3 separate regions of the Homo sapiens genome follow, and all the other regions are linked to region 3. The links are contacts of gene promoters, found by promoter capture Hi-C in blood cells and fetal thymus (Javierre and others, 2016). All regions are on one chromosome and are shown on one strand. The core of a region is centred on a gene start or on the middle of the fragment in contact, and the rest is flanking DNA. Distances in the headings are between cores, read along the strand shown. Region 1 holds the start of FAP (fibroblast activation protein alpha). Region 2 overlaps IFIH1 (interferon induced with helicase C domain 1). Region 3 holds the start of GCG (glucagon).

The links. The method cuts DNA at HindIII sites, captures the fragments that hold promoters and counts their contacts. A CHiCAGO score of 5 or more calls a contact.
Region 1: a contact is called between the fragment with the promoter of FAP here and the fragment with the promoter of GCG in region 3, in 1 of 17 cell types (megakaryocytes). The highest score is 5.1, in megakaryocytes.
Region 2: a contact is called between a fragment that was not itself captured here and the fragment with the promoter of GCG in region 3, in 1 of 17 cell types (megakaryocytes). The highest score is 6.1, in megakaryocytes.

Annotation. Positions count from the first base shown.
Region 1 is chr2:162,241,398-162,244,889 of GRCh38, forward strand. FAP (fibroblast activation protein alpha) reads right to left here and starts at 2,048. Exons shown (of 26, transcript NM_004460.5): 1 at 1,925-2,048; 2 at 1,511-1,595. The coding sequence starts at 1,930. The HindIII fragment of the contact is 18,804 bases long and covers 1,698-3,492 here.
Region 2 is chr2:162,274,439-162,278,181 of GRCh38, forward strand. It overlaps IFIH1 (interferon induced with helicase C domain 1), which reads right to left. Exons shown (of 16, transcript NM_022168.4): 10 at 2,977-3,255; 11 at 2,249-2,508. Among named protein-coding and RNA genes, the nearest start is that of FAP, 33 kb to the left of the region's middle. The HindIII fragment of the contact is 907 bases long and covers 1,635-2,541 here.
Region 3 is chr2:162,150,887-162,154,149 of GRCh38, forward strand. It overlaps GCG (glucagon), which reads right to left and starts at 1,361. Exons shown (of 6, transcript NM_002054.5): 1 at 1,272-1,361. The region is part of intron 1 of LOC101929532 (a long non-coding RNA gene); the gene reads left to right. RefSeq lists a promoter at 1,249-2,970. The HindIII fragment of the contact is 4,864 bases long and covers 1-3,263 here.

The sequences.
Region 1 (3,492 bases), core at 798-3,297, 91 kb after region 3:
GTGTATCTCTATACATCATTTGTAAATATGTAAATATAATGCATTTCTTATTAGAAATTATAGCTTGAATTCCATAGTGAAATTCATCCTTCCCTATGGACATGGAGGCAAGTGCCCTATAAAATTAACAAACTTTTGTTCCAAGAACATTTATTTCTGAGGGTGCAGAGTATCAATTTCAAGGTTGAGTTTCTTTAAAAATCAGGAGCTAATTTTTAATGAATTAACATTCAAAGGATCTATATGACCTAATCCACTACCTGACAATTGCTGGTATGAGGGAAATGTGGCCCCAAGACCACTGAGTTCAGAGATGAGTCTGAAAACAATTTTAACATGAAAATTTATGAAAGATATGTACACACACTACATACCTCTCAACAGCCTAAGAAGAATCTTGTGCTGGCAGAGAGCAGAAACAAAGACTGAAATTAACACTGAAGATATCAGCTGACTTCATCTTATGGGTTAACCTATTCTATTTTGTAATTCTGTGAAAATCTCATGATTATTTTTAATTTTCGAAAACATTTTTCTATGTTCTTTTTAATAGCAACAGTCCAGTCATTCAGGACTCATACATTCTTTAGCTGAAGTTATTTTATTGATCTTCATTTACTATCAGTTAACTTTTAACCAAGATATTTCCCACATTTGTTATCATAAACTTTTAGTATTTATTAGTACAAATTTTTCCCCTTTCCTAGACACAAAGACATAAGACCTGTTATTACTGGATTTTTTTTCCATTTCAGAAGCTTGAGTTTCTCTTCATAAATATTTTCATAAAAAGCTATTTCCCTAATATCACTAGATTATCTATCAACATAGTCCTACTTTATATTTAAACTAGCTCTGATATCAGCCCATAGTACCTTCCAATTTTTAGCAAAGTGAGATCAGTGTCAATCTAAGCCTTTTTTGTAAAAGGATCCAATTTATGACTGATCAAAATGCTTGCTTAACAATGTTTGGTTTTCTAATTTGATGTGCAGTGCTACTACATCTAAAACAACAACTTTGCTTTTTCTATACAGCTATTCCTGAGATCTGTATTCTCAACTTCCTCCCTAAATTTTTGGAAAGACTATTTAGTAATAAAAAAAGTCCATAGATTCTGTTTTAACTTTTCCATTCTTACTCATTTTTACTTTCCACGAGACAAACCTAATAATGAAAAGCAATGTTAGTTAAAAATGTTGTTTCTAAAGGCCTGTCAAAGCTTGTATTTAGCATATATTTTTGGGGGTTGTGGGGGTGATGCAGCATAGTTCTTAGGTTTTTCTATTGCTGAAATAACACTGTAAATCTCTTCCTACCCATGCCTTAAATTCCTCAGTATTTCTGGTCTTGCACAACAACATATCTGTGAGCTTATATGTCTTCTTAGAAATAACAGACTTACTTTGGAACATAAGCACTTAGGAAATGTTCAACCACTTGTGATCTTGCATTAGTACATTTTCCAAGCTATTCTAGGCAGATAGAGCAAATCAGAGAAAGTTCTTACCTCTTGAAGGGCGTAAGACAATGCACATCACCAATAAGGCAAGCACAGCAGAGGTGGCAACTCCAAATACGATTTTTACCCAAGTCTACATAAAATAAAGAGAATTAGGCATACACACAGTTCCTGCTAAATAGTAGAAATGGCAAGATTTTGTTTACACCTAAATCCTTTTTCTCTCGCCCCACAAAGCTTTTGATTGTTTTCCACTGATCCGGCTATAATTGCTGGAATTCTTCCAGCTCTGCAAGGACAAATGTTTCTACAGTATATTTAGAACAATTTTCCAATCCCAACCCATTGAGGAAGTAAATACTTATGTACAAATCTTCACCTTCTAAACAATAGAAAACTCTGATCACGTTCAATCCAGCCAACCCTAATTTTTTAAGAATACTTGAGGTTGCTTATACTAACCTTCATTTTTCCAGATGTTTTTGAAAGTTAGCTAATTCTGTCTTCAGAGCGTGGGTCACTGGATCTGTGAAAACCGTTGAAAAGGACCAAGTCTGTCTTTGTAGTTGGAAGCTGAAGCCAGGACAAGGTTTTTTTCTTTCCACGGACTTTTGAATACCGTGCCAAGTTTCAAAAGATTTCTGTAAAATTAGAAACAGATTTTGGGGGCGTTCTTGGCCCTCAAATGAACTGTGAGTGACTCAAGGGAAGTTTTATAGCCTTCTCATCCTTGTAACTACACCAACATCTGCTTACGTTGACATACAGAGGTTTTTATTTTTTCTTTTTTACCAGTTCAGGTTTATGTTGCATTTTCTTCTAGAATTCACTGAAGGATCACTTTAGCAAGTCATTGGGTTTTGCATAACATTTTTATTTGCCACTAAAAGATGAATTTAAAATAATGAAACTTGCAGGTCTGTACATTAAACATATATCTACTTTTTAACAGAGGAAGAACATTGAAGCCACATAAGATTTTGTGAGAAATGTGCCATATAACTGCACTTTTTTTTCCTCTGGAAGATTATGAGGTATTGCAGACAGAAATGTTTTTCTTTCAGCACAATTTCTTTGTCCATATAGCACCATATGCACTTTCAGTAAATACAGAAGTTTAAAAATTCAACTGTCTAAACCCACGGCTGCTTTACTTTAAAGAAATAAAATGCCATCTGGTGAAATTTAGTATGGGTTAGGTGTGTATGCACAGGCTAGAAAGATGGAAAGATCAGTAAGAATAATTTACCAGCAGACCTTTGGAAGAATGGAAATGGCTTTACAAGAGTGGTATTTTTGCTTTCCTCTCAGAATATCTTCTGAGAGAGGAGAACATCTAGTAATTATAAAGATTTAAAAATAAATAAAAAAGCATCTGAAAAGAAAAGTAAATCTTATGTATAATTTCATTTTGGCTAAATCTACATAATTCCAAAGAAATTGGTCATCTTGACAGATTAGTAAAATGGTTGACTGAATTAAAAAAAATACACATACAACAGTTTCTTGGAGTGTTCTGTCTGTTTTAATGCAATTCACTTGGATAGATTTTGTGGTTCCACGTAAACACAGTTGTTAAATCTACTGTGTCCTTAATTTTTCCACTAATGGTTTTCTTTTTTCGAAGTTTATAATGTTCCCAACCTGATTAAAACACTTCATGGCAACCTTTCTTGGATTGTACATGAAAGGTAATGGGGAAATGTTACCAAAACATGTTGCTGTTTGCCTTAGTCAACTTCTCTGGCTACCACGGGACACTTTCTCCAGCAAAGAGCAGGACAGTGGCTTGTGAACTTCCTTTCAGACATTCTCCAGACATCCCTCCCTGAATTCCAGCCTTATGAAAATTCTGTTGAGGAAAATGAGTCATTAGGCACTTACTGGCAGAGAACTGTATTCCTGGTGGCTGGGGCTGGGCCCTCTCCTTTGCTGTTGGTGGAGTCACCTCTTTACAAAATGAAGTAATCATTAAGAGTAATATCCAAGGTGTGCTATACACTTGTAGGTATCTCCAAGTGATTGTGAAA
Region 2 (3,743 bases), core at 838-3,337, 120 kb after region 3:
TATGGAATATTCCCAAAAGGACACAAGAGAAACTGAAAACATCAGCTGCATCTAGGGAGGGGAGCTGGAAGACTAGAGGTCAGTGGTATGCCTTGTGCCTCATTAATTTTGAATGAGGTAAATATATTATCAATTCAAAGGGACAATATAAATAAAAATGAAAGAAGAGGTTATGCAACTGTAAATAAAACTATTTTCAAATGAAAAAACTCTGAATTTTGAAAGTCAATATAAATAAATTAAAATATGACCTCTCATCCTTACATGGGAGAAATGAGTGAGCACAAACCTAGCTTGATATGGACAATGTGGTTTTATTTTCATAACCACTCTCATCAAAGCTGTTGGTCCAGTTGGCATTTGGTGCACATCCACACTGTCTATTGCCCCCATACATTAAACAAAAATAAAGCTGCCAGACCAAAAGTATGTTCTTCCATCCCCTTCCCTTTCTTCTCAGAGGCAGTGTGAGTCCTTATTTGACTCCTACTCCTAACTGTCGGAGAACCCTGTAGAAAGGCCTCTCTTGAGTCTTCTCTGAAAATTTCTCCCTCCGGCCCTCACATCTCCCGATAAAAACTTACATGTTCTTGGATTTTAGCAGAAGATGCCTGTGTCTTAATTTGAAGGAGTAACTTTAATAACAAAAATTCCAGACAGTGTCAGATCTTCAAGTCACATCACATAGATGCCTAACACCATTGCTAAGGAGTTTGTCCACCCCAGTTTACAAGGTGAGGATACAAGGAGTGGGGAAGGAAGGGAATATGTTCTGTATTTTGGCACACAGCCCCTTGGTTTGAAATGAATAAGGAGCAGAAAGTAGCTTGAACATAGGCTTTTCATTTGCACTCTACCTCTTTTTACAGAGAAGCTTAGCCCTCTTACAATAAAAGTCACAACGCTAAAGTTAATATAATAGAAATTTAAAAACAGAACTCATAAGAATCAACACAGAGGCTGTGAGACTGAACTTGAGTTTTTCCTGCTAGCTTTCTGGAAGCTAAGGCAAAAAGAAAAACATATAAAGCAAACTACATCTCATCAAAAAGAAGGAAGCAAACTTGTTACCCAAGGAAAACAGTACTTTCTCTGGCATTAATTTTATTGGCAATGCTCACAGGAGTGCATGTAGAGGGTATATAAAGAGTTATAGTGAACCATTTCAAGAATTTTTTTCCAGCAAACACTGAAACAGAATTAATTTGCTCCATTGGCTTGAATAGTGATAACTATAATAGAAAGGAAGTATCCATTTGTCCAGAAAGACTCAGGGTCAATGTGATTTTAGCCCTCAGAAGAATATTTTACTCTAACAAGGCATCATTGCTTCATGCATGCTTGTAATGTCTACTAGTGCCTTTTTTTCTTACCCAAGTGTTTTTTTACTATGCCCACAGTAAGCAACATGTAAACAAAGTAAAACAAAACACCTTAAAATGGAACAGAAAACCTACTTACCAGAATCCCAAATCTCTAATATATCAAATTCTTTAGTTTTTTCAAGTTTCCCTAGAGGTCTCATTCTATGTAAATATATTTTGCATAGTTCTAGTTATAACGAACACATTTTTGTGGGAGTTTGAATTTTCCACTTGATACTACATGGCAATCATTTCTGAACTTTGTTGTTAAGCTTACATGTCACTTATTTTTGCAAGGGAAACTTAGAAAGTTCTTCCAATTATTATGTGGGAAAAATGACTCCTAAAACAACACTTAACCTCTCAAAAACCACAGATTTGATTGCTATTAGCCTTAGATTTTATTTCAAGAACAGGTGTTTTATCCTGTAAATGTATTCATGGGTGGTGAGAGGATTGGTAGAAAAAGACTAAAAACAATTTGAGAAGAGTAATAACAGCATAAGAAAAGAAGTCCAGGCTGAGCGCAGTGGCTCGTGCCTATAATCTCAATACTTTGGAAGGCAGAGGCAGAAGGATGGCTTGAGCCCAGGAGTTTAAGACAAGCCAGGACAACATAGTGGGACACCTTTTCTACAAAAAAGATAAAAAAATTAGTTGGGTGTGGTGGTGCACACCTAGAGTCCCAGCTGCTCAGGAGGCTGGGGCTGGAGGATTGCTTGAGCCTAGGAGGTCAAGGGTGCAGTGAATCTTGATCATGCCACTGCTCTTCAGCCTGAGTGACAGAGCGAGGCCTCGTCTGAAAGAAAAGAAGAAGAGAAGAAGAGAAGAGAAGAAGAAAAGAGAAAGAAAAGAAAAGAAGTCGTCCAAAAGGATATTTATACCTGTGTCATGGGTTTGAACTCACTGCTGTGTCCAGCTCCAATCAGATGGTGGGCTTTGACTCCTACTTCAGCAAATTTTTCATTTTCAGTAATCCACTGGGAAAGCGCATATGCACTCTGTCGTGTTTTTGTAAAGATTATTCCTCGTGCTGATTCCTCAGTCCTAGTATATTGCTCCATTATGGTATTTCTTAATTTGGTCAGCTTTTCATTTTCATATTCTGGGTTTTCAGCCAGCCTTTTCAACATTTTATTGTTTTCTTTAAGAAATAATTAGAGTTGATATGTTAACAAGCTTGATTTAGCCACTCCACAATGTACAGATATATCAAACATTTTGTACACCAAAAATATACAGTTTTATTGATTAAAAATTAATTAATTTAAAAACTATTTGGAAGTATAAATTAGTAAAACATACAACGAATTACACTAGAAGGTTTCATGAATTGTGGCTCATCTACAATCTTGCGCTATATCTAATAATTAGGATGGTTTAATAAATAAATTCATTACAATTGTCTTGACAATAAAACTGAATGACCAAATGACTGACTGTGATCATACAACTGGTAGCTAATCTGGTCATATCATTAGAAATAGTTCCAATCTGAGTGGGATTTCTTCTTTCAAAAGATATTTCTCTTTTTGGAGAGCTTATGAGAAGCAGTAAGTTCATGTTGAAAAGGTAAATGAATGACACCAGTATATGTTACTTTGAATCTTACCAAAAAATAAAGTCATGAGAAATCTATCTGTTTCATCCAGTTTCAAAGGTTTCTTTAAATCATCCTCATCTTCATCACCATCACAATACTCATCATCACCACCCTCATCACTATCATCTTCTATGACTGCAAACTTCTTATCTTTCTCTTCATTATAGAAAGTTTCAAGATGAGTATACGCATCTATCATTCGAATTGTGTCATTAATTTGTAGGGCCTCATTGTACTTCCTCAAATGTTCTGCACAAACACGTTCTTTGCGATTTCCTTCTTTTGCAGCTGTGAAAAAATATATTATGTAAGTGAAATAATAAGCATATAAACCCCCTAAAATTGTGCCATGGACTTGAATATATGTTACTAACTGCAAAACTGGCTTCACCTTGGTTTTAAAATGGGCAAGTTAAGGCTCAAAATGTGTCCTGAGCTCTGAAACAGGGCAAGTTTTCCAACTCCTAGACTTGCTGCTTGAGTTCTGCCTCAGCAAAAACATGTAGCTGATGCACAGAGAAATGGCATGAAAATATATTAGTTGAGTTTGCCTTTGGAGACAGAGCTATTAAAGTTTATCTCAAGACTCTGGAGACAAAGAGAAAATTGGATAGCATTGGAATCTCTCTCCTTAGAAAAGGAATTAGAACATGTTTATTATGCTTGTCCTACAGAGAACACAGAAATTCTATTTGGAACTACTTTTGCTTTCCATTTTTTGGGGAATCTGTGATATAGTCATCTAAAATCTTGGTATAAACATGGGATAAACTAAG
Region 3 (3,263 bases), core at 111-2,610:
ATAAACCACATAAAGAAGTGAGCGTTCCGTATCTAATAATATTACCAACAATAAATGACTTCTTCTGAAGAAAGAACTGGCTTTAAAAATCTCACTTATTTGTTTGTGAAAGTCTATCGAATTGTGAAAAAAAAAAGAATAGAGTTAATTGTTTGAATACAATTGCTGAGAAAGTAGAGATTTATGTTATTTTAGTATTAAAATCTTATTCAATAAGAAAATAATTTCCAGTTAATTTCCCCCCTCTTTAGGTAGTCTAAAGAGAGCCTGCAGTTTTGTAAGAACTACAAATTTCCACTAAAATTTAAAGGAAAGTATGGTAACAATAATAAGTAGGAAGTCTTACAGAAAGATTAACCTTAGACCTAAAAAAGAAGACATTATGTTCTATCCCCAAATGTGTTGGCATTGTAGTCCATATAAATCCTTTTTCAAACTGGTTAGCTCATTTTATGTAATAGGTCTTCAGTATGTATGGAAAAATACACCACTTAATCATTTACTCCATCAAAGATCTTTGTAAATTTGTTTTTTGTCTCTAGGAGCCTAATCTAAAAAGACAAATTAAAATTTTATTGCAGAGGGTAGCTATTTTAGATTTTATTACTATTTATCCTCAATACATAGTAAATAGTTATTAATGTATGGCTTCACTCAGATGCATCCAAAGAAAACCCCCCAAATAGATGACACTTGTTCTCTGCACCAAGTACGCTATGTTTTATTTACAAAGAGTTGCTTTAATGGACTTTGATTTTTTGATAGATGTCTGAAATTTGAATATTTGAAAGATGTTATTTAATTTGCTCTTTTGGAAAACCAGAGATTTTAATTGGTAAAAAGCAATTTCTGTTATAGGCTCCCTAATGGACACATTTCTGCTTACTTTAAAAGACGCCTTCTGTTCAAAGTAGTATACAGATCTATCAAGTCCAAGAAAAATATTTATTCTTCAAAATGTTACCAATTATTTTAAAATACAACTCTCATAACAGTTAAGTATTATAACAAGTGCATTGATTTGAATCTTTGTTTTTTTTCTGTTTTATATTTTTGCATATAATTATTTTTCCAACTCGCTTTGCGGCTTCGCTATATTAAAGTACACGTAAATGCATTTGATATAACCTTTTCCATCTCAGTTCCTCTCTGTGTACTATTAGTAATAAAGTCTAAGATGAAAGAACAACATTTTAATTTATAATATTTTGATCCCTTAAAAATACTTCACTGTCCGCCAAACAGGATTTACAATTTTATAATCATCTTACCTTCTGGTAGTGTGCTGTAGAACAGAGCAGGTGAAGAGAGAGCAAGCCCTCTTTGGGAACTTTTGATGTGCTCTGTGTCCTAAGCTCTGTACTTCTGCACCAAGGCGCACTGCTTTTATATACTCTCCAGCTCTGTTTAGCCTCACAGATATTACGCTGACAATATAAATTTCTCATCTGTAAATAATGAGTTTTTGTTACAAATGACTTCCCTCTCCCACTCACTTTGCTCATCTGCATTCTATGCTTATATTGGGTGAGAGACCTTAGAGACCTGGAAACTTTTTATGCACTCTTGTATCTTTTTTTTTTTTTTTTGGTTGGGAATGGAGAGAGCAGCTTGGAAATCCACCTTCTACTTTCAATCACGCATGAAAATCACTTAAGTTCTCTAAAGTGAATTTTGACGTTGAAGACAAAAGACCTTGAAATTACGTAGCCCATGGCCATCCCTGTTTTGTGCATGTCCTCATTTGAGGTTCTTACAAGTCTTTGGTTTGCTACCTAGCCATGATGAATTTACCTGAATATAACAATCACTTCAGTCATTCATTTATCTAAATAATGATCATTCATTCAACACATATGTATTAAAAATCCTCTCTTCCTCACAACGTGGAGTTTATTTATGTTATGTTTGTGGAAAATTTAAGGATATTGATTAAACCCCTATGTGTTCTGTTTTAATAAATGGAATTCAGGCAGAAAGGATGGAGCAAAATGAAGATTAAACATCCAAGATAGCTGATGCTAACAGGAAATTATCTGGTATTTTTTTCCTTCTAATATATATTTAAAATCTAATTTTACTGATAAGAGAGTGGGGTACTAAGTTACAAAAGAATGAGATATGAGGAAAACTGTTGAGATGAGATGCATATTTTCACGTTTCCTGAGTTTTGTGACTGGACACACAGGCTTTAATGATCTGTGACATTTAGCAGAAATGATTCTGGTCACTGTAGAGAAATAGAAAAATGGTAAATAATCTGGAAAGACAGCATAAGAAGTAGTGTTGGCATAATTTGATTTTAGTTTTGCTGTTATTGACCAGCTGTGTGACCTTGGTCAAGTCACGCATTCTCTTTGTGTCTCTGCCTCCTTATTTGTAAAATGAGAGGGGTTGGTAAATGTCTTTTCTAAAATAAAAATTTTATTCCATATTGCAAACTCATCACAACATTTCCTAACTAGATTCCAATATTCTAATATAACCAACCGCATGATGTCACTGATGACTTGTATGGAGGTAAATCATTGAGGCAACTGGAGAAATATTCCAAATGAACTTAACTGTTCAATTTGTGCATGAGACCAACGTTTGAATGTAGAGCTACTTGAAGGCCACAGAGATCACTTTCAAGTCAGACTGGAAGACATCATTGAGGGGTTTTTGTGCTGGTGATTATTGGGTGCTAGAAAGCCTTGCTTTGCAAAGTGTGGTCTAAGGACCAGCATCATCTGGGAGCTTGCTAGAAATGCAGAATCTCGTGCCTATCAGAATCTGTATTTTAACAAAATCCTAAGGAAATCTGTGTTCATATTAAAATTTGAGAAGCACAGCTGCATAAAATATCTGCCTCACTTTATCTCCTCATTGGTACTGCTGGTGTCTTGATCTGAGACCTGCTTCTTGGCACTCTACCAGCAGAGGGGGTGAAAGAGCAGAGAAAGGTGTCAAGCCTTAGGTCGGTCTAGAGAGTAATACTTATAAATACGGTAATAGCTTGAAAGAGTGGATTGATTTAATGTATGATTACATTGTCTTTCTCTCTGGCTACAATCTTCACACAACTATTCGCTATATTTTTAATCGTTTTGGCAGATTCAGTTCTACTTTTCCCATTGTCTATTTGTCTATTTGAGCAGATGTTTCTTTCTGTCTCTCTGTCTCTGTCTCTCTCTTTCCTTTTCAGACTCTACTTGTTTGTGGAGCAGCCCTAAGAAGGAAGATCTGCAGATCATATATATAAAATCTTCAACATAGCACTG